5 separate regions of the Homo sapiens genome follow, and all the other regions are linked to region 4. Evidence: promoter capture Hi-C in 16 types of primary human blood cells and fetal thymus (Javierre and others, 2016). All regions are on one chromosome and are shown on one strand. The core of a region is centred on a gene start or on the middle of the fragment in contact, and the rest is flanking DNA. Distances in the headings are between cores, read along the strand shown.

Region 1 (4,108 bases), core at 86-2,585, 270 kb before region 4:
CTCACACTTCTGTCACCTTTTGTGTAAAGAATAGCAGCAGGATCCAGCATTCTCCATTCTCTTCTCCAGTCAGAAACATTGAATTGCCAAATATATTTTCCTGAAAATCTCTCTCTCTCGTCTCTCTCTCTCTTCATCTCTTTTGAGACTGGCTCTAGCTATATAACCCAGGCTGGTCACAAACTTCTGGCCTCAAGCAATCCTCCCACCTCAGCCTCCTGAGTACCTGAGTAGCTGGAATTACAACCACAAGCCACCATGCCTGACTAAAAACCTCTTTTTGTCTTGATATTCCTCTAATCAGAAATCTGCATTGGCACTTTAGTTCCTACCAGATAAAATAGAAATCTGGAGGTCTGGTGTTTCAAGACTGGTCTCAATCTACATTTCCAAACTTATATTCCATTCCTCTCCCTTTTGGAGGTCTTCTCCTGGCCCGAGCTGTCCTGGTTACTCTTTCCATAATTGTTTTCAACTTCCTTACCTTAACCCCTTTCTGGAATGTCTTCTTTCTCACCCAGGTTGAAATTTTACTCTTCAGTCAAAGCCCCACTCCCTTCCTGTGCCTTGGTGGAAGAGTTTTCTCCACTGCTGCTGGTCTGTAATGGCCTCTCCTGCCTCTGAGGTGCTATTAAGACTGACTGCCTATGTTACTTTTGGCCTTGACTATAACTAGTAACTATAGCTTTGAAAACAGGATGATATTGGATTATTATTTATTTTCCCCTCAGGGTATATAGTTCAGCACCTTGTACAAAATATGCATTCAACAAACAGAAGTCAATTTATTGAATATTAGATGTTATTTATTAGTTACTTAGAAATATAACCTCATATAAATGTCAAGAGTATGGGGGTTTGAATGGTAATTCTTCTACATCAAAGCATGGCATAGTAGGTACTGTGAAATGCACCCTGCTCTCCCCCATTGAATATGTATGCACACACACACACACACACACATACAAACACACACACACACACACACACACACACACAAGCTTATCTTTGGAGTTCAGGTGAGAGCATCTTAACCTCAGAAAACGTTATCAGGCTTGTATTAGTCAAGAGTAACTCCTAAAAGTAGCTTGAACAAAGTAGCTTTAAAAAACAGGAGCGTATTAGCCTCTGTGATGGGCAATTCAAGAGATGGATTTTTTAGGCAGAGCTAGATTGAGGGGTTCCAGTGTGCCCCAGCTCTGCTTTAATCCATGTTGATTTAATTCTCAGGCAAATTCTTTCCACGCGATGATGGAATAACTCCAAGTTCAAGTCCTTACAATGGGAGATCCCAGAGAACAGAGAGCATCTCTTTCCAATACCATAGAGACCTGCTCTATGAGTGACCACTGCTTTCTTATTGATGATGTCCCTGGAACTATTCTGCTACATCCATGTATTACAGGGGACACCCCGTGGCAATCCTAATCCCTAGTTAATCCCCACTTTCCTAATCCTACTTCAGAAGCAGCCTCCAATCCAGAACCGATGTTCAGTTCCTGGATCCTGCTCAAAATCCTTCAGTGAAACACACACTGTACAGAAGACGTTTCCTGCTCCTTCTTGTTGAGTGGTCTGCCACAGTGCTTCTGCCATGTGCTCCCTCACTGAAAATCAATACATCTGATTTTGTCAGATTATACATTGTGCCCAGTGGTCTTTGGCTAATTAAGCTTTAACAGGGAAAGAGGAGAAATGAGCTGCTATATATTGCTTTTACCCTAAATTAGTCCCTAGAGGATGTTTTCTGATCATATTTTTTTCCTGTGTCCTTGACTTCCTTAAGCAGCGCCTGTTCATTTTCACTGGAAATGTTCCAAATGGATCAGAATAATTTTGACATTGTGTCACCAGGGACATCCTCCTTTTAATATCTAGCATCACACAAAAACAAACATTGCATTAGTCCTGAAAGAGTTCTGACTCTACATAATTAATTTTCAACACAAAACTAATATAAATAGGAATGTGGAAAAAATAGGTATTAAAGGTAAAATGGAGGCTGGGCACAGTGGATCATGTCTGTAATCCCAACACTTTGGGAGGCTGAGGCAGGAAGATCACTCGGGCCCATGAGTTCAAGACCAGCCTGAGCAACATGGTGAGACCTCATTTCTACAAAAACATACAAAAATTAGCCAGATGTGGTGTGTGTGCCTGTACTCCCAACTAATCAGGAGGCTGAGGTGGGAGGATCACATGAGCCTGGGACGTTGAGGCTGCAGTGAGCCATGATGTGGGTTTGAATGGTAATTCTTCTACATTAAAGCATGGCATGGTAGGTACTGTGAAATGCACCCTGCTCTCCGCCATTGAATATGTATGCACACACACACAGCCTGGGTGGTAGAGCAAGACCTTATCTCAAAAAAAAAATTTAAAGATAAGATGGAAATGGAAATATGACAGATCAAGATAGTGACTGCTTGTAGCCCAATGTAAACTTATCTGTTTGAATTTCTTCTCTTTAGAAGCTTATTTCTATACCATTAAGTTCATGTTATCTGTGCTGCTTAACAAACCTATTTGCCAACTTCAAATAACTATTTCACCAACCTCGTGGATTCTTTGGGTCAAGAATTCAGAAAGGATACAGTGGGGATGGCTTATCTCCTTTTGGTATATCTGGGACCTCAGCTGACAATGACACAAACACTGGGAGTGATGATGGCTGGGAGCAAATGTCAGCTGGAGGTTTTGTCTTTCACATGTCTGGCAGTCGATGCTTGCTGTGTGCTGGGACATCAGTTGTAGCTGTAGGCCAGAACACCTACCTAGGACCCATTCAGGGGGATTGTACTTCCCGCTAGTATCATGGCCTCAGAATTTTCTTACATGGCAGATCAGAGCACCAAAGGCCAGTGTCTCAAAAGGACCACTTGGGAAGAGTGTTGCCTTTGATACTTAGCCTGCAGTACAGCATCACTTCCACTGTGCTCTAGTGGGCTACCAGTCACATGCCTTCCCACATTTGAGGGGAAGGTACATGGGCCCTACCTGTCCATGGAGGAAGTGCCAAAGAATTTATGAACATGTTTTAAAACTGTCACAAATAATGATTCCTCCCCCTGTCTCTTTCTCTCTTTCCTTTTCCCTTTCTCTCTCTCTGTCTTTATATGTATCCAGTGATATCTATCATGTATTTATGTAGTGGTATACATTCAGGGATTCTTTCTGGAACTCATTTCTTGCTCTCAAGACATACCATACGTATTTTCAGTAATTTTACATTTGGAGTAAACTCAATTCAACTTAATTGGATTCAACTAAAGCTGAAATTTACTGAGAAAAGTATTCTGTGAAAGGGTTGAGTTCAATCCATAGTAACTTTAACTGGGGATTGAAAAATAGAAGTTTTGTCCTGTAGGGCAATCTGAGTACAGTCGTCCTTCGGTATGTGAGGAATTTGTTCTATGTCACCTACCTCACCCCACCTTGGATGCCAAATACTTAAAATTATCTCTAGATTACTTATGATACCTAATACAATGTAAATGCTGTGTAAATAGTTGTTATACTGTATTTTTATTGTGATATTGTGAATTTTTTTTTCTAATGTGTTCAATCTGAGGTTGGTTGAATCCCCAGATGTGGAACCTGAGGATATGAGTGTAATGGCATGGCTTCCATTGTGAGCCACTGCAATGCATTTTTGTTTGAGTTTTGGGGTGGAGGCTAGGGAAAAATACAGTTGATCTTTGCTGTTAGAAAAGTACTGATTATACTGATTAAAAAGAAAAAGCCATCCCTCACCTGTTAGTGACTACCAATTTGACCTAATAGTCTCTGGACAGTGAGAGTAGATTATTCAAGGTTGGGACCAGTTAATGAGTGGTTTCAGGCTTAAATTACACAAAAAATAAAAGCAGAAAAAAAAAAACTAGATTCTGGCACCGATAAATCAGATTAATTTATTCTGGTAGTCCAAGTGTATTTAAAATATCAATAAATGTAAAAAAGAAATAGTCAGGTTCCCAGGGGAGTGTTTTTCTGGAAGAACCCACTTTAGTGTCAAAATTTTACTGGTCTTCATCCAAAACATTTGAAAGCAGGGAGGGATTTTGAATCCTAGGCATAAGGATAAGCAGTTTGCTGGAGTGAAAAATGA
Region 2 (3,638 bases), core at 361-2,860, 340 kb before region 4:
GCAATCAAACTTAATGGATGTACTGAGGCATTTATAGAACCAGTTGCTTTAACTCTCAAAAGCCATTACCAAAATGGTATTTTTTTCCTCCTTCCGCCAGTCAGGGAGAATTTTTAAAAATAATAATCAAAACATGAAAAAACATAATCACACCTGTATTTTATCATGACAGCTTCAGAGAGTGTGTGTGTACGTTTTTCTCTCTTTTATTTGAGACGGAGTTTCACTCTTGTTGCCCAGGCTGGAGTGCAATGGTGCGATCTCAGCTCACTGCAACCTCCGCCTCCTGGGTTCAAGCGATTCTCCTGCCTCAGCCTCCCAAGTAGCTGGGATTACAGGCACCCACCACCATGCCCAGCTAAGTTTTGGTATTTTAGTAGAGATGGGGTTTCACCATGTTGGCCAGGCTGGTCTTGAACTCCTGACCTTAGGTGATCCACCCACCTCGGCCTCCCAAAGTGCTGGGATTACAGGCATGAGCTACTGCGCCCAGCCGTGTGTATGTTTCTGAAATGATGATGGGGTGGGGTTAAAATCTAAAGGGAAAAACTTGAAACTACCTATTTTCATTGGTTATTCAGCAGTGCCTAAAATGAGCTTTTGAAGTAATGTAAATGCACTTTCAATTCATGTGTATAGTGCCATCTGATATCTTGGGTAAGTCTTGCTTTTTCTTTTCTTTTTCCTCTCCCCTGCCCCCTTAATTAAATGGCACGGAAATGTTTCTTAATATGCACGTGAGTCTCCAGAGTACAGGAAATGTGCTTTCCTCTAAATGGTCAATGTAAAGAATCTTAAGGATATTTCTTGTGTTGAAATTTACATTCGATTTTGTGATTACACTTGGAAGTATGTGTTAAATTGGGTTTTTAATTGTAGCCCAAAGGTGCATTAAGCAAGTGTAACATTTTTTCCACATAAAACTTAGAAAACTTTAGTTACCTGAAAAGCAAGGATTCTTTACTAATTATTATGCTCATTCTTGATTTGACTTCCATGTTCACACTTCAAAGTGTAAGAGGAAGCACTAGAAACTGGCATTATTGTTGCACTAAAAAAGTCTATAAATCATAATAGCACCATGAGGTGTTTTGCAATGAGACAAACATGAAGAATGAATTTCTTTAAGAGAGAAACACAACCGGAGGTGATTTATATAAACCAAAAGAAAAAAAAAGGCTTTAAGGTATTAGGTACTGTTTGCCTAGCAGCCAGGTGGTTATAAAAGATTCATATGCTTTGGTACACTGATAAATGTTAGCCATTATTCCTGAAAGCTTCTTAAATTGCATCAGTTGTTTTGAAATTTTTTCAAGAATAAACTAGTTGAAAAGTCTTTGTATTAAAAATACACATAGATTTTTGTGAACATTTCCAGTGTGTAGTGTCGTTTGCTTTCTATTTCTGACCTCAAAAGTGCCTCACTTGTATATTATTTCCATTAAAAGCTTGACTGCATTCTTTCTAATGAACAATGAAAAACTGTTTAACTCATGTCATAATGTGTCTCCTCAGATATAGTTAACTAGCTTGATAGTTTTGAGTATATAATGTAAATAATACATTATAAGTTTGTAACCATTTCTGTTACTTCATACCCGTGTAATTGGACATAGCAGATGATTATCATAAGAATTTGTTTTAATGGTTTTTTTCCCTCCTGGAATTACCTGATTAAACCTGTCATGAATTATAAAAGGACTTTTTCTTATTCTCCTAGAGCTTATCAAATTATCACATAAGAGATAATTACTGGAGGAGAAAGTAAAAATGGAAGCTTTTGATAATTAGCTCTGTTCTTTAAAAGTATACTTTTAAACTGAAAGTTCACATATAGTTCATCTTAATAACATATTTATTCATCCTTAATTGTATTCAGATTTTTTTTTAAGTCTCTAAGCTAATAATGTTATATTTATTGGTTTGGTAACATGTTGCAGCTAAGCTAATGACCTTAAGTGGCAATTGTTTAACCCAGGACTACTGATTTTTTTATATTCAAGTCAGTTTCATCGTTTTACTTAACTCGCCATATAACCAAAAATAACGAATAATCTAAAGGAAAGGTTATTAGGACAGTAATAAAAAATTATAGTGTATCTCAACACTAGAATAAGTTGGATTACTATATTATAGTTTATTTGAAAAATCAAGGAGTAACTGTATCTTTACCATTAATTATGAAATGTAGTCTCATGTGCTTATTTACAGGTTTTTCAGAATTTGCTTTACATTCTTCACATCAAGTTAATACCCACAAGTAAGTAGAATAGCTTTTATAACAAGGAAATTGAAACTAGGGTTCTAGCTTGGCTATCAATATAAGTGTCATGCACATAGTGCTCCTTAAAGAAAAAGACATCGACATCAATGGTATGAAAGCTGTAGTCACTCTTTAAATTGAACTGCTCTAAGATTTGCAGTTTTAGTGAGATCTGAAATGATGGTTCAAAAAATACATTCATAATAAAAGTCTTAACAAAATCACAGTTGAAATAGTGTTTCTTTTGTCTTTATTTTTGTTACATAATGTATTTTATACATGATTACTTTTAATCCTCAAGTAACCTTGTAAGTATTATCTTCCTTATTTTTCTAAGGAAGAGATTTGGGCATCAAAAGGTCAAAATACCAGATAACACAGAGGCACCAGGTCTGAAACAAATTGACTCCAAAGCATAGGCTTTTCTTCCTGATGCAGTTTCAGCTTTCTGTTACAGGAGTCACAGATACACTTCATAAAATAATCATTCTGTTAAAATGAAATTCTATTTATTATTTTAAGCTGGAGTAATTTTGTTTTATAAAGGAATAATTTCTTAATTTCTACTCTCCCTTGTCCATTTCTGGGCCCCCTATCTCACTAAGTTGTGGTACGTGATCCACAGTATGGCATGGGAATTTTTTAAATTGGAGGATAATTGTGATAATGCTTCAAGATATGCCAGTTGTGAGTTGATCCAATGGGAAGCACTAAAAACATACATAGTTCAGTTTGTGGAATTGTTCATTTTGCTCAATTGGTGGTATTTTATTGGAGGGATTCATTTTCACCAAAGCAGCAATACTTCTCCTTGAGGCAGTAGGAAACAATGCTCTAAAATGAGCCGTGTATACAGTACTCTTCCGACCTCCCGCTCCCCCCGCCCCCCCCCCCCCAAATGATGAGCGATTCATCTGTCAGTTATTCCACAGAGCCTCTTTTGGGAACCAAAGTTGCATTTATTGTCAGGACTACTTTTTTTTTTTTTTTTTTTCTGGAGACACAGTCTCGCTCTGTGCCCAGGCTGGAGTGCAGTGAGCAATCACATTACACTGCAAACTTGACCTCCCAGGCTCAAACAACCTTTCCACCTCAGCCTCCCAAGTAGCTGGGACCACAACAATTGCCACCATACCCAGCTAATTTTTTTCTTTTTTTGTAGAGACAAGGTGATGCTGTGTTACCCAAGCTAGTTTCGAACTCCTGGGCTCAAGCAATCCTTCTACTTCGACCTCCCCAAAGTGCTGAGATGACTGGCATGAGCCACCGCACCCGGCCAGGACTACTACTGAAACATGTTTCCCACAATGAGATTAGTATTCTCTCAAAATTACTGGTTCTGTTAACCTGGAAATAATTTATAATAACCAAGATG
Region 3 (3,689 bases), core at 1,049-3,548, 280 kb before region 4:
GAGTATTTGAGAAATCATTCAGAATATTACTAAGTGAAAAAAAGAGACTACATGACACTGGCAGAGGGAGGGAAATTGGACAGTCCAGGAAGAAGGACTGTCCTCAGCATGTGCAGAGGTCTTGAGGTCAGATGAACATGGATTCTCAAGGTACTGACAGGAGGCCACTTTACTGAGAATGAAGAAAGCAAGAAGGAACATGGAACAAGGAGAAGATGGGAAGATAAGCACTGAGGGCCATTGCAAAGGGTCAAAGTTCTGTCTCAGAGGAACGAAAAGTCATGGAAGGGCTTTGAAGGAGAGGAGTAACATCAACAATTTACATTCTTAGCTTCTGTGAAGATACCATATTGGAGATGGGCAAAAGCAGAAGCAGGGGAAATGGTGAGGAGGCTATTGCTAGGGGAGCCATACAATTATACTCTAAACCTGGACAATTTTGAGAGTATAATGGGGACCTTTTATTATTACACCAGGACAACAGATTCAAACCAGGACTTCCCCAGGCAAACCAGGACAGATGGCCATCCCAGCTATTATGGAAGTAGCCCAGGCAAGAAGCAATATAGACTTGAACTAGGGTGGGAGATTGGGAAGAATTCTAGCTATGGATGGTTTAAGGTTGAATCTCAGTCCTTGATTGGCTTCATTTGGCATCGTCTTCTTTCGATGTTCATTCTTGTGTTCACTATGTTTGATAGGTAGCTTTTTCTGGTGATTTTAATATTTTTGGATCAGCAAATCTTGAAATTTAACATGCATAAAAATAACCTGGCAGCCTTTTTAAAACAGATTCCTAGGCCTCACAACCTAGAGTTTATGATCCAGTAGGTCTGAAGCACAGCCTGGGAATGTGCATTTCCAGCAAGCTCCCAGGTGATGCTGGTGATGCTGGTTTGGGGACCACACTTTGAGAACCATTGCTTTAGATATATGCTGATTGTGACACCTATGCAGGTTCTCTCTGCACGGGCTTAAGTCCTGTTTCTAATGTGTATGCTTTTGTGCCTGTCTTGCGAATTCTTTGTTTTTGTTATTTACATCCGTAATGTATTTCTGTTTCTTTAAATTCATGCATTCCAGAATTGCCTGATCCATTGAGTGGGGAACACTGCTCAGGGATCTAGCCACAAAAGCTATGCCCATTCTTTTTATCTATTGTGCTTTGTTTTTAAATTACACGTTTAAAACTAAATTACAATTAGGTTTTTTTTACTTTAGAGCATTGCACCTCTAAATCATCTCTAACCCCCAATGTCCAGTACTCATTTTTAATCAGTCTGCAGTTTTTCTGTGCCAGCCAATTGCTGATTATGCTCACCTTTTGCTCTTTGTAGCAGTTCCTCAAAGCTGCACTTTTTCTTCAGCCTCAATCCCTGAGGTCTTGGACCCTCTCGTATCTCAGGAACCTCATCCTGACCTGCAAGGCTGCAAACCTAGTGACCTCTTTGGTCCTATCTTCTTGCAGATCTCTGTGGGCCACTTAGCTACACTGTCCATTAGACACCACTGACTGCAGTAAATTGTCTGTTACATCTCTCCAGCCTGCTATCATTCTTCTCTTTGTCTCAAACTTCTTCTGGTCTCTGCTGACTTTGGGTCCCACAGAACCTCTGGATTCATCACTCATCAATCCCGCTAAGACCACGTAAGAAGGCATTACTTGTAAGAACAGTGTTGTCAGGGAGACTTTAGCCTAGAAATAGCAGCCACTTTTCTCAACAGTCTTTTCCTGTTCCTGCTTTCAAAAATCTTTCCCCTTTTTCACAGCTTCAGGGTAAGAGACAAAACAGCTGTGCTTTATGTTTGAAAACTGCAACGCACATTCAAAATTCTACAATCCCAGCAGAAAGCCTGTTTTCAGCACTTTTTTTTGGAGAAGTAGGCAAAGCTTATTATTTTATTTTAATGTAACTTTGCATGTGTTTTAATTACACAAGCAATACATTTTTATTGTTGAAAATATGAAAGATATAGAAAGCAAAAATAGAAAAATAAACCATGGATGATCCGAAAGATAAAAATCACCCAGAGATAACCTATTCGGCACTTTCAAATTCTCCTAATTTGTATTTTTTTAGCAGAAAAAAACTTTCCTTCAAATAAAATCACACTGAGAGGCCCAATACATAAACAGATAAACCTGACTTGGATTGGAGGCAAGGGAGTGAGGTCCAGCTGCTCAGCTTGACCCTCACCATTCATAGCAGACCCCAGCTGCTCAACTTGACCCTCACCATTCACCACAGACCCCTCTGCTGGATGTCAGCCTTCCCCAGGGCTATGTGAAACTGCACCTCTAGGTCATTTCAGCGCGAGACTTAAATACTGCAGATGTACTGCCAAAGGCATTTTAGGCTTGACACTCTGATTGCCTAGGGGTTGGAGCAGATGTTATTTTTGTATCGGTGGTCCTTTCCACTTCCACATATTCCATCTTGTCTTAGAGTTCATGTTGCCTCCAGTCTAAAGCACAGGTGATTAACCTGGGACTTGAACACTCCCCCCAAAATATATATCTATAGCTTTAATTAGTGTAGGGTTCATGTCAGTTTTTTTCTTGATAAATATTTTTGAAGATCTCAGCAATTTCTAGTTTAGCAATATAGTTGGAAACTTTGAATTTAAATAGTTAAATTGTTGAAAAATTAAATATTTAGAAACAAAAGTGAAAATAATTTGAGCAGATATTTTCCCCATTGCTTGTAAGCTTGACTTTGATGTGTCCATCATATTTTCCTTTATAATTGATTGGTATTTTGCTCCTGCAACGCCCAACTTTAAATGGAAATGTCTTACATCTGATATTTTCACATGACTATTAGGAGAGAATCATATAACACAGAAAGCTAACTTTAGAAAAAAATTAATGATAATGGTATTCATTTCTTAGAAATATACTTTTTACCTCTGTTTTTAGAATGTCATGAGGCCATAAACATATTACCGAAAAATTATGTTTTTAAAATTTTGGTAATTTCACCTATTTTAAATGCACTAGCAGGATTTCTTTCAAATGAAATCCTGTGATAAATGCATCCTTTAAAAAAGTGGTAGTGCCATTCACAATAGCAAAGCCATGGAACTAAGTGCCCATCAATGGTTGACCGGGTTAAAAAAATGTGGTGTATATACACCATGGAATACTACATAGCCTTTAAAAAAAGGATGAAATCATCTTCTTTGCAGAAACATGGATAGAGCTGGAGGCCATTATCCTAAGTGAACTAACTCAGAAGCAGAAAATTAAATATCACATTGTTCTCATTTATAACAATGGACATAAGAAGGAAATAATACACACTGGGGACTCCAAAAATGGGAAAGGAAGGAGAGGGAGAGGGTTGAAAGATTACCTACTGGATATATTGGATAAAACGTTCAATAGTTGGGTGACAGGTATACCAGAAGCCCAATGCCCACCATTCCACAATATACCCATGTAGCAAATATTCACTTGTACCCCCTGAATCTAACTTAAAAAAAAAAAGAATTATGAGAAAAAAGGGAGAGTGCTTTTGTATTGTTAACACTTGTGTAATGTGAATAGAGCTCTGTATCGTGTTGTTTTATAGGTTCCCATCTCATATTTGGAATTTCCAGAAAGTTGGGCTCATTGTGTATTGACTGTTCTATTCTGAATGCTAGTTCTATACAGGTCTCCTTGGACTGAGAGACACACAACTAGC
Region 4 (3,596 bases), core at 857-3,356:
TGGAACTTAGGCCAATTCCAGGACATGACTGGACACTTATGTTAATGGTTCCTAAAAGATAGTGTAACAGTTGGGAAGTTACCAGATGTTCTATACTGGGAGCCTTGTCTTCCCAGAACTCATGAGAGTCTCCCAGTGACAGCATTGCCTGCTTGCCTGAAAGGATCTCACCTTCAACTTTAAGGACAGGGACATCCAGTTTAATGTCACTCTGGTCTGATTCATTGTGATTCCATTATTTAAAAAACATGAATCTTTATTTCCATGACATCCGTAGAAGTTTTTCCCTACATTCCAAGAGCTGTCTTCCACTCTCAATCAATAAGAGCTAACAGAACTACGTGTTCTCTGCATTCCTGGGCAGTGCATGATACTACAAACACTCTCAACCAATGAGCTCTCTCCTCAGTTGAGGATGTTCTGCAACGTGGGACTTTATTTTTGCTATTGATTTTGTGTACTCGAAATTATTAGCCTAAGTCCCCAGTAAAGAGATTGGGTCTATGACCTGGGCTAGTCTCAATGAAAAGGAAGAGGGAATTCACCCGTTTCCCAAAACTTGGGTGGTTGAGATGATGTAGGCAGTTTTGAGGTAGAGCAGAATTGGGGGGCGGGTGCGGGGAGTCAAGGATTCTTCCATTCCAGGTTGGGAATCTGCAATCCCTTTGATGTAATAGCATGCCAGATGTTTGAACTATGAAATTGTTTCTGGGGTTCAGACTGTAGAACCCACTGAGGCAGAAATGTGGGAACTTGGTAGGAAAACATAAAGATGACAGCATGTTGGATACTTCAAGAAGGTACAAGGTCCTTTCCACGGAAGTTTTGCTAAAAGTGGATCAGGAACAAGAGGTGAATTATGTAACTTTGCTTCAGAAGCCACATCTACCTGTAATCAGCCATCAGAGGCTGAGGAAGGTCAGATTATCTTGTGTCTTCCTTATCATCGCCATCACTATCAGCAGCAGCAGCAGCAGCAGCAGCAGCAGCAGCAGAGTTCTCTGTCACACTCTATTACTAAAGCTAAAGATTGCATGTGATTATAGATATTTATTATTCTGGTCATTGTCATGGTGATCTTTGCGGAAAGATATTAGAGGAAAACTCCCTCCTAGTCATATCTGGAGGCCAATGTCCTTAAACAGAAAACTGGGGTCATACCCTGTAAAACCTATCAGACCAAGTAATCCAGAGCTGGGATGGGGGCAGGATCTCTTTAGAGTAAGACTTGCCTTCCAAGCCACATAACTGTCATCTGGAGCTTGTCACTGCTGACAATTTTCCTCCTTGCTGCCAGCTTGCTCTGTATCACGCAGGGCTATCATCAGTAACTTAGCCCTAAGAGGGGTACAGGAAAGATTAAAAAAAGGAATGCTATATTTGTGGGGGAATCATTCTCTAAAAGTCTCCCTTGCCAGCAAATTTTAAGTGGTAGGAGCAGTGGTTGTCACCACAGCTGGCACTTTGGGTTTTGTGGTGTGAAGCAAAGGCTTTTTAACTGAGAGAGGACTGGTGCCCATTCCTGGTGGCAGCTCCTGCCACTGGAAGCCTGGTTGGCCAGAATGTGATGCTGTGATGGGGACTGCATCTGGATCCCAGCTGTCAGGACCTGGCTTCCAGATCTGAATTCTAGAGCAGAGGGAGGGAAGGCAGAACACCTACCAGCACACTAATGTTTCAAGTTTGGCCTAGAGCAAAGAGCCTGAGTTGCTGTTGGCCAAACGTTGGCCTGTGTTTGTCAGACTGGGCTGAAGACTTCCTCCCTGGTCTATCCTTCACCTCTTATGCCACAGTTTTGGGAAACACTGTGCTCAGCAAGCTGAACTGCTTCTTGGGTGTGCGACTAGGGTGCCAGCCAGGCCAGGGACGTCCAGGACTGGAAGAAATGCAGGGGCAGGACCACAGCACAGGCTGATCAGGAGGCTGCCCCACCAGGAGCTCTGCTGAAGGCTGCATCCTCTCTGCTGAGAGTCAACCACTGTGCTGACTCACCATCCTTGTGGTTGAGAACCCATCAGCAAATTGGTGGCTCTGATGAGCCCTGGAGCTGCAAAATATAGGCCGGGGTACCTCAGCCGGAAGGGACTTCAGTTAGTGACAGGTTTTCTGTTCTGATATGGAGCTACAAGGGGCCCAAGAGGACCTGGGCATTTCCCTCTCTAGTCCCCGGAGGAACCATGAAACCAGGCCAGGAAGCAAGGCTAAGGGCAGGAGCAGCATCTGTCTCCAGGCGTCTGTTTGGATGGCTGTAAGTCCCACCTTGCTCTGTTTTTTTCTGCTATGGCTGAACCTGGATCTAGCAGGGTTCTCAGTTTCTGCTATGGCTGAACCTGGATCTCAGTCCCCTGGTGAGCTTAGCTCCTGCCTCCCAGAGAACTGGAATGACCTTATTCAGACACCTCCAGCCTGTATAAGTCAGGGGCAAGGACTGGGGAGTCAAGAGGGTTAAGGGAGTGAGAGGTGAGAGTTACAATCTACATTGTATTTTATGTCAACAGCATCCCCTGGAGTACTGCAAAGCTCTAAGTCAGATATCCCAGTGGGGGGCATCACCCATCCTAGACTTTCTCCCCTGCCCCATGCCCCTTATACCAACATCAATTCAGCACATAGCACTGTACTTGGCCATTAAGATAGTAAATAAATGCCTGGTGAATAGTTTGATAGACAGAAAGATGCCCACTCCCCCAACCCAAAGATGTTTACATTCTCATTCCTAGAAACTGTAAATATGTTATCTTAATAGCAAACAGGATTTTGCAAGTGTGGTTAACATTAAGGATCTTGAGATAAAGAGATTATCCTGGATTATCCGAATGGGCCTAATCTAATCCTAAAAAGCAGACAGGCTTCCCTGGGTGCAGTCAGAGACAGAAATGCAGCTAGGGGAATTGGAGTCAAAGAGAGGGCCATGAGAGAAGGATTCCATGCCCTGTGGCTGGTTCTGAGAGGTAGGGACTCTATGTAAGGACAGAGCAAATGTCTTCTAGGAGTTCAGGGTGGCCCCAGTTAGCAACCAGCAAGGACCTCAGTCTTACAGTCCCACGGAACTGTCAAGACCAGAATGAGCAAAGATAGTGATGCACCCCCAGAGCTGCCACCAAGGAACGCTGTCCTGCCGAGACGTTGATTTTAGTCCTATGAGACCCATAGGACTTCTGGCCCATAGAACTAAATGATAGTGTGTGTTTTAAGCTGCTAAAGTTTTGGTAATTTATTATAGTAGCAACCGATAATAGAAATGGCTATAAAATGGAATGTATTTTGTAACTGAACATAATTTTCTTGCCTCTGGTGTCCCTAATTTCCTTGGTGGCTGGCAGTCATAGAGAAGTCCTTTTCCATGGTTAGCTGTGTGCCAGTGACGGGGAGGGCATCCTTACTCTGGTCTCAAGTGCTTCTTGGCACCCCTGGGTTTACTTTTTTGCTGATGTCCCCTGGCATAGGTGTTGCTAGAAGCTGGCGTTTTTAGGAAGCACGTAGAACTCTCTGCTCCTTCATAGTCAGTCAGTGGCTCCATCCCAGGCAGGTGCTCCAGACCCATCCCATTCATTAGTCATCTATTCTGTACAAGAAACTTGATGAATTTTATTTCA
Region 5 (3,962 bases), core at 1,161-3,660, 300 kb before region 4:
CTTAAAAAAACAAGTATTAAAAAAAGTTTGCCAACCCCTGTTTTGGAGCTAACTCTGATCATTTGGGCAAATAATTTTTTCTCTCTCTGGGTACGTCTGTTTCCACATTTATATAAAAAGAAAGAGCTGAACTAGATAATCTGTAAGGCCCCATCTGTGCCTCACATGCTGTCTCTCTCTGCCACTATTGTTAAAGGACAACACACTATTGGTTGATTTTAAATGTTTACTTTTGGAAAATTTCAAACCTATACAAATGCAGAGAGAATGGTATAACAAGCCCTCATGTACTCATCACCCAACTTCAACAAATACAAACTCATGGCCAATCTGGTTTCATTCATACCCTCCTAACTCCCAGGCACTACCACCTACTACCACCCCACTAGATTTTTTAAAAGCAAAACCTAGACATTATCATGTCATTCATAAATATAGTATACAGCTCTAAGAGATAAGGGTTCTTTTTTAAAACATATGAAACTATTTAAAACATTTTTTGCTGAGATAAAATTCACCATTTTATCCATTTTACAGTATATAATTAAATGGTTTTTAGTATATACACAACGTTGTCCTTCACTAGTAAAGCTGTCCTTCTCTATGGTGGGCATGGAAAATAGGAAATTCCCTTCCATCACCCCAAAAAGAAAACCCTTACACATTAGCAGCCACTTCCAAATCCTCACAACCCTTTAGACTACTTTCTGTCTCTATAGATTTGCTTATTTCGAACATTTTATATAAATGGAATCATACAATGTGTGGCTTTTTTGGTCTGGCTTCTTTCACTTAGGATAATGTTTTCAAGACTCATCAATATCATAGAGGTATCAGTACTTCATTCCTTCTTCTGGCTGAATAATATTCCACTGTATAGGTAAACCCCATTTTGTTTTCCCATTCATCAGTTGATCAACATTTGGATTATTTTCTCCACTTTTTGGCTATTATCATCAATGCTATTGTGAAAATTCACGTATCACTTCTTGTGACAGCATATGTTTTCTTTTCTCTTGGGTATATACCTAGGAGTGGAATTACTGGATCATTGGTTATTCTACATTTAACTTTTTGAGGAATTGCTAGACCGTTTTCCAAAGTGGCTGCACCGTTTTTATCTTCCCACCAGCAATGTGTGTGGTCCTGATTTCTCCACATCCTTGGTAACATGTTATTTGTCTTTTTTATTATACCCATTCTAGTGGGTGTGAAGTATCCCTTTGTTGTTTTGATTTGCATTTCCCTAATGACTAATGATGTTGAACATCTTTTCATGTCCTACTGGTTATTAATATAGATATTTTTTGGAAATTGTCTACTCAAGTCCTTTTCCCATTTTTAAATTGGGCTGTCTCTTTATTGTTGCATCTATGAGTTTTTAAGATATATTTTGGATACTCAACCCTATCAGATATATGATTTGAAAATATTTTCTCCTGTTCTGTGGATTTTCTTTTTACTTTCATGATAGTGTCCTTTGATGCACAGAAGTTTTAAATGTTGATAAAGTCCAATTTGTATGTTTTATTTGTTGCTGTGTTTTTGGTGTCATATTTAAGAAACTGTTTGCCTAATCCAAGATCACAATATTATTATTGAAACTAAAGAAATGACAACAATTTAATATATCATCAAATTTGTAGTCAATGTTCAGATTGTTTTTTGGTCTCATAAATGTCATTTTACAATTGGTTTTTGTTTGTCGGTTTGATTGATTAGGGAATTTAAACAAGGATCACAAGTTTCATCTGATAAGTCTCTTAAGCATTTTTTAAATTAAACACTCCTCTTCTTATTGTCTTTTTTCATTGTCATTCATTTGTCTGTACAATTTCTCACATTCTGGATTTTGCTGATTGAATTTCCAAGATAGCATTTAGCATGTTTCTCTGTTTCTTGGAAAGCTTGATCAGATTCAGATTCCATATTTTGGCAAGATGATTCCATAGGTAGTGCCATATAATTCCTACTGCTTTCTATCAGGAGGCACACACTGTCTGATTGTCTCTCATTTTGTGATGTTAAGATTGATTGGTGAGTTCAGATATTGTCAGCTTGACCTGCTCATTATACAGTCCCCCATCCTCTTTCATTTTACTTTATTTTTTTAGAGATGTGGTCTTGCTGTTTTACCCAGGCTGGAATGCAATGGTGTGATCATAGCTCACGGCAGCCTCGAGCTCCTGAGCTCAAGCAGTCCTCCCACTTCAGCCTCTCAAGTAGCAAAGACTATAGGTATATACCATCATGCTTGGCTAAATAAAAAAACAGTTTTTTTTAAGAGATGGGATCTCACTATGTTTCCCAGGCTGGTCTCCAACTCCTGGCCTCAAGCTGCTTCTCCGGTTTCAGCCTCCAAAGCACCAGGATTACAGGCGTGAGCCACTGCACCTGACATCCCATCCTCTTTTAACTAATGGTTTTAGCAAGTCATTGATTATTATTGCCTGGATTTATTATTTTATTAGGGGTTGCAAAATGCAACTGATTAATTTGCCCAATGGCTATTGCCTATCGAATATTGAAACTTCCAAGTGTATTATTTGTTTTCAATAATGCCGGGCAAACTGCTGATACTTCTCTGTGTTCACCCTTCTCCGTATATTCTGATTTTTAAACTCTTTACATTTTTCGAGCTAGGTTGGTGGTAAGATCATGTTGTTCATATTCCAAGGAATTGTCTTGACATTTCTTTACATTATGGTTTCAATCACTCCACCGAGTAAAGGTTCTGGACATTGTTTGCATTGACAGTCCTTGGCATAATCATAAAATATTTGAAGATGGTCTTTTAATTATCTTTTCTCTCCTTCTTTAGAATCCTCAATTTCTATACTTTCCCCATCTCTCCCCTCAATACACATATCTTTTATCTTTTAAAGACTTTTCTATAATCAGAATGAAACAGAAGAAGCTTTATACTAATGTGTAAGAGACTTGCTGTCTTGCCTCTCTATGAGTTTGCATTTTAAAGGGCGAAAACATACATTTACTTAACCTAAAGAAATGAATCCTGAGTGATGAGATGCCAAGCTCCAGTGCTGGAGCCTTTTTTTTTTTAAGCCAGAATTTTCCCTGAAAAAGATCACGAATGCCATATCATTTTTACCATGAAAACACAGAGTCTAGCCTGCATGTGTGTCACTCTTTGGGCTGGGAACCTCTGTGCTCTCGGCTGTCCTTTCTCAAAAGCTTCTTGGTTTCTTCTGTGTCTCAAGAGCCAGTGTCAAATGGCTAAATGAGGAAAAAGATTGTTGATAGGACCATGGCATCTTAACATCCAGGTTTAGGTTATAGTTACTTGAGAATTTAGACTTTGCTCTCTCAATCAAACAACACTTTTAAAATAGCTTGTTGATTAGGATTAGCTTTGGCTGTAAGCAACAAAGAAACCTAAAATAACAATGGCTTAAGCAGGATGGATGTTTATTCCTCTCATGTTCCTGAGAAGTCGAGTTTGTCAGTCCAGGACAATCTGGGCACTGCAGAGGGTCAGAGACCTAGGCTACTTCCACTGTGTGGCTTCACCATGCTGATTCCCTTCTCAAGGACCCCTTGGCCCAGACTGATGGCTAGAACATCACTCATTGTTATCTGAATTCCAACTAACAGAAAGGAAGAATGGAAAAACAAAGAGCATGCCTGTGCCTTTCAGGGAAGCGCTCATAAGTTGCACGTGCCGCTTTCTCTCTGCATTAGCAGAATTAGCCATATGACCACACCTAGCTGCAAAGGTGATACGAAATATCTTTATTCTGAGCAACCACAGGGTCCGTTAGAAATCATGCATTTTATTACCATGGAAAGAGAAAAAAGTGGATGTCAGTGGAAAACAATTAATATCAGCTGCAAATAAACATTATAATAGCAAACAAGAAGCAATGTGGTATTGAGTGTCCCTTCCCCCAAATTAAAAACAGGGCACTCTTAGACAATTTACTCACTAACTGTAAACTGTT

The links. Contacts are between HindIII fragments. The CHiCAGO score rates a contact against its expected background, and 5 or more counts as called.
Region 1: a contact is called between a fragment that was not itself captured here and the fragment with the promoter of LINC02694 in region 4, in 15 of 17 cell types (naive B cells, total B cells, naive CD4 T cells and 12 more). The highest score is 21.7, in naive B cells.
Region 2: a fragment that was not itself captured here is called in contact with the fragment with the promoter of LINC02694 in region 4 in 1 of 17 cell types (M1 macrophages); the score reaches 5.1 in M1 macrophages.
Region 3: a contact is called between a fragment that was not itself captured here and the fragment with the promoter of LINC02694 in region 4, in 1 of 17 cell types (total B cells). The highest score is 7.0, in total B cells.
Region 5: a contact is called between a fragment that was not itself captured here and the fragment with the promoter of LINC02694 in region 4, in 1 of 17 cell types (naive B cells). The highest score is 6.3, in naive B cells.

What each region holds. Positions count from the first base shown.
Region 1 is chr15:38,427,634-38,431,741 of GRCh38, forward strand. No RefSeq gene overlaps it. Among named protein-coding and RNA genes, the nearest start is that of FAM98B, 24 kb to the right of the region's middle. The HindIII fragment of the contact is 672 bases long and covers 1,000-1,671 here.
Region 2 is chr15:38,354,761-38,358,398 of GRCh38, forward strand. It overlaps SPRED1 (sprouty related EVH1 domain containing 1), which reads left to right. Exons shown (of 7, transcript NM_152594.3): 7 at 1-2,489. Among named protein-coding and RNA genes, the nearest start is that of FAM98B, 98 kb to the right of the region's middle. The HindIII fragment of the contact is 329 bases long and covers 1,447-1,775 here.
Region 3 is chr15:38,410,356-38,414,044 of GRCh38, forward strand. No RefSeq gene overlaps it. Among named protein-coding and RNA genes, the nearest start is that of FAM98B, 42 kb to the right of the region's middle. The HindIII fragment of the contact is 819 bases long and covers 1,890-2,708 here.
Region 4 is chr15:38,694,492-38,698,087 of GRCh38, forward strand. It overlaps LINC02694 (long intergenic non-protein coding RNA 2694), which reads left to right and starts at 2,107. Exons shown (of 2, transcript NR_160786.1): 1 at 2,107-2,248. RefSeq lists an enhancer at 2,217-2,266. The HindIII fragment of the contact is 8,690 bases long and covers 1-3,596 here.
Region 5 is chr15:38,393,891-38,397,852 of GRCh38, forward strand. No RefSeq gene overlaps it. Among named protein-coding and RNA genes, the nearest start is that of FAM98B, 58 kb to the right of the region's middle. The HindIII fragment of the contact is 1,010 bases long and covers 1,906-2,915 here.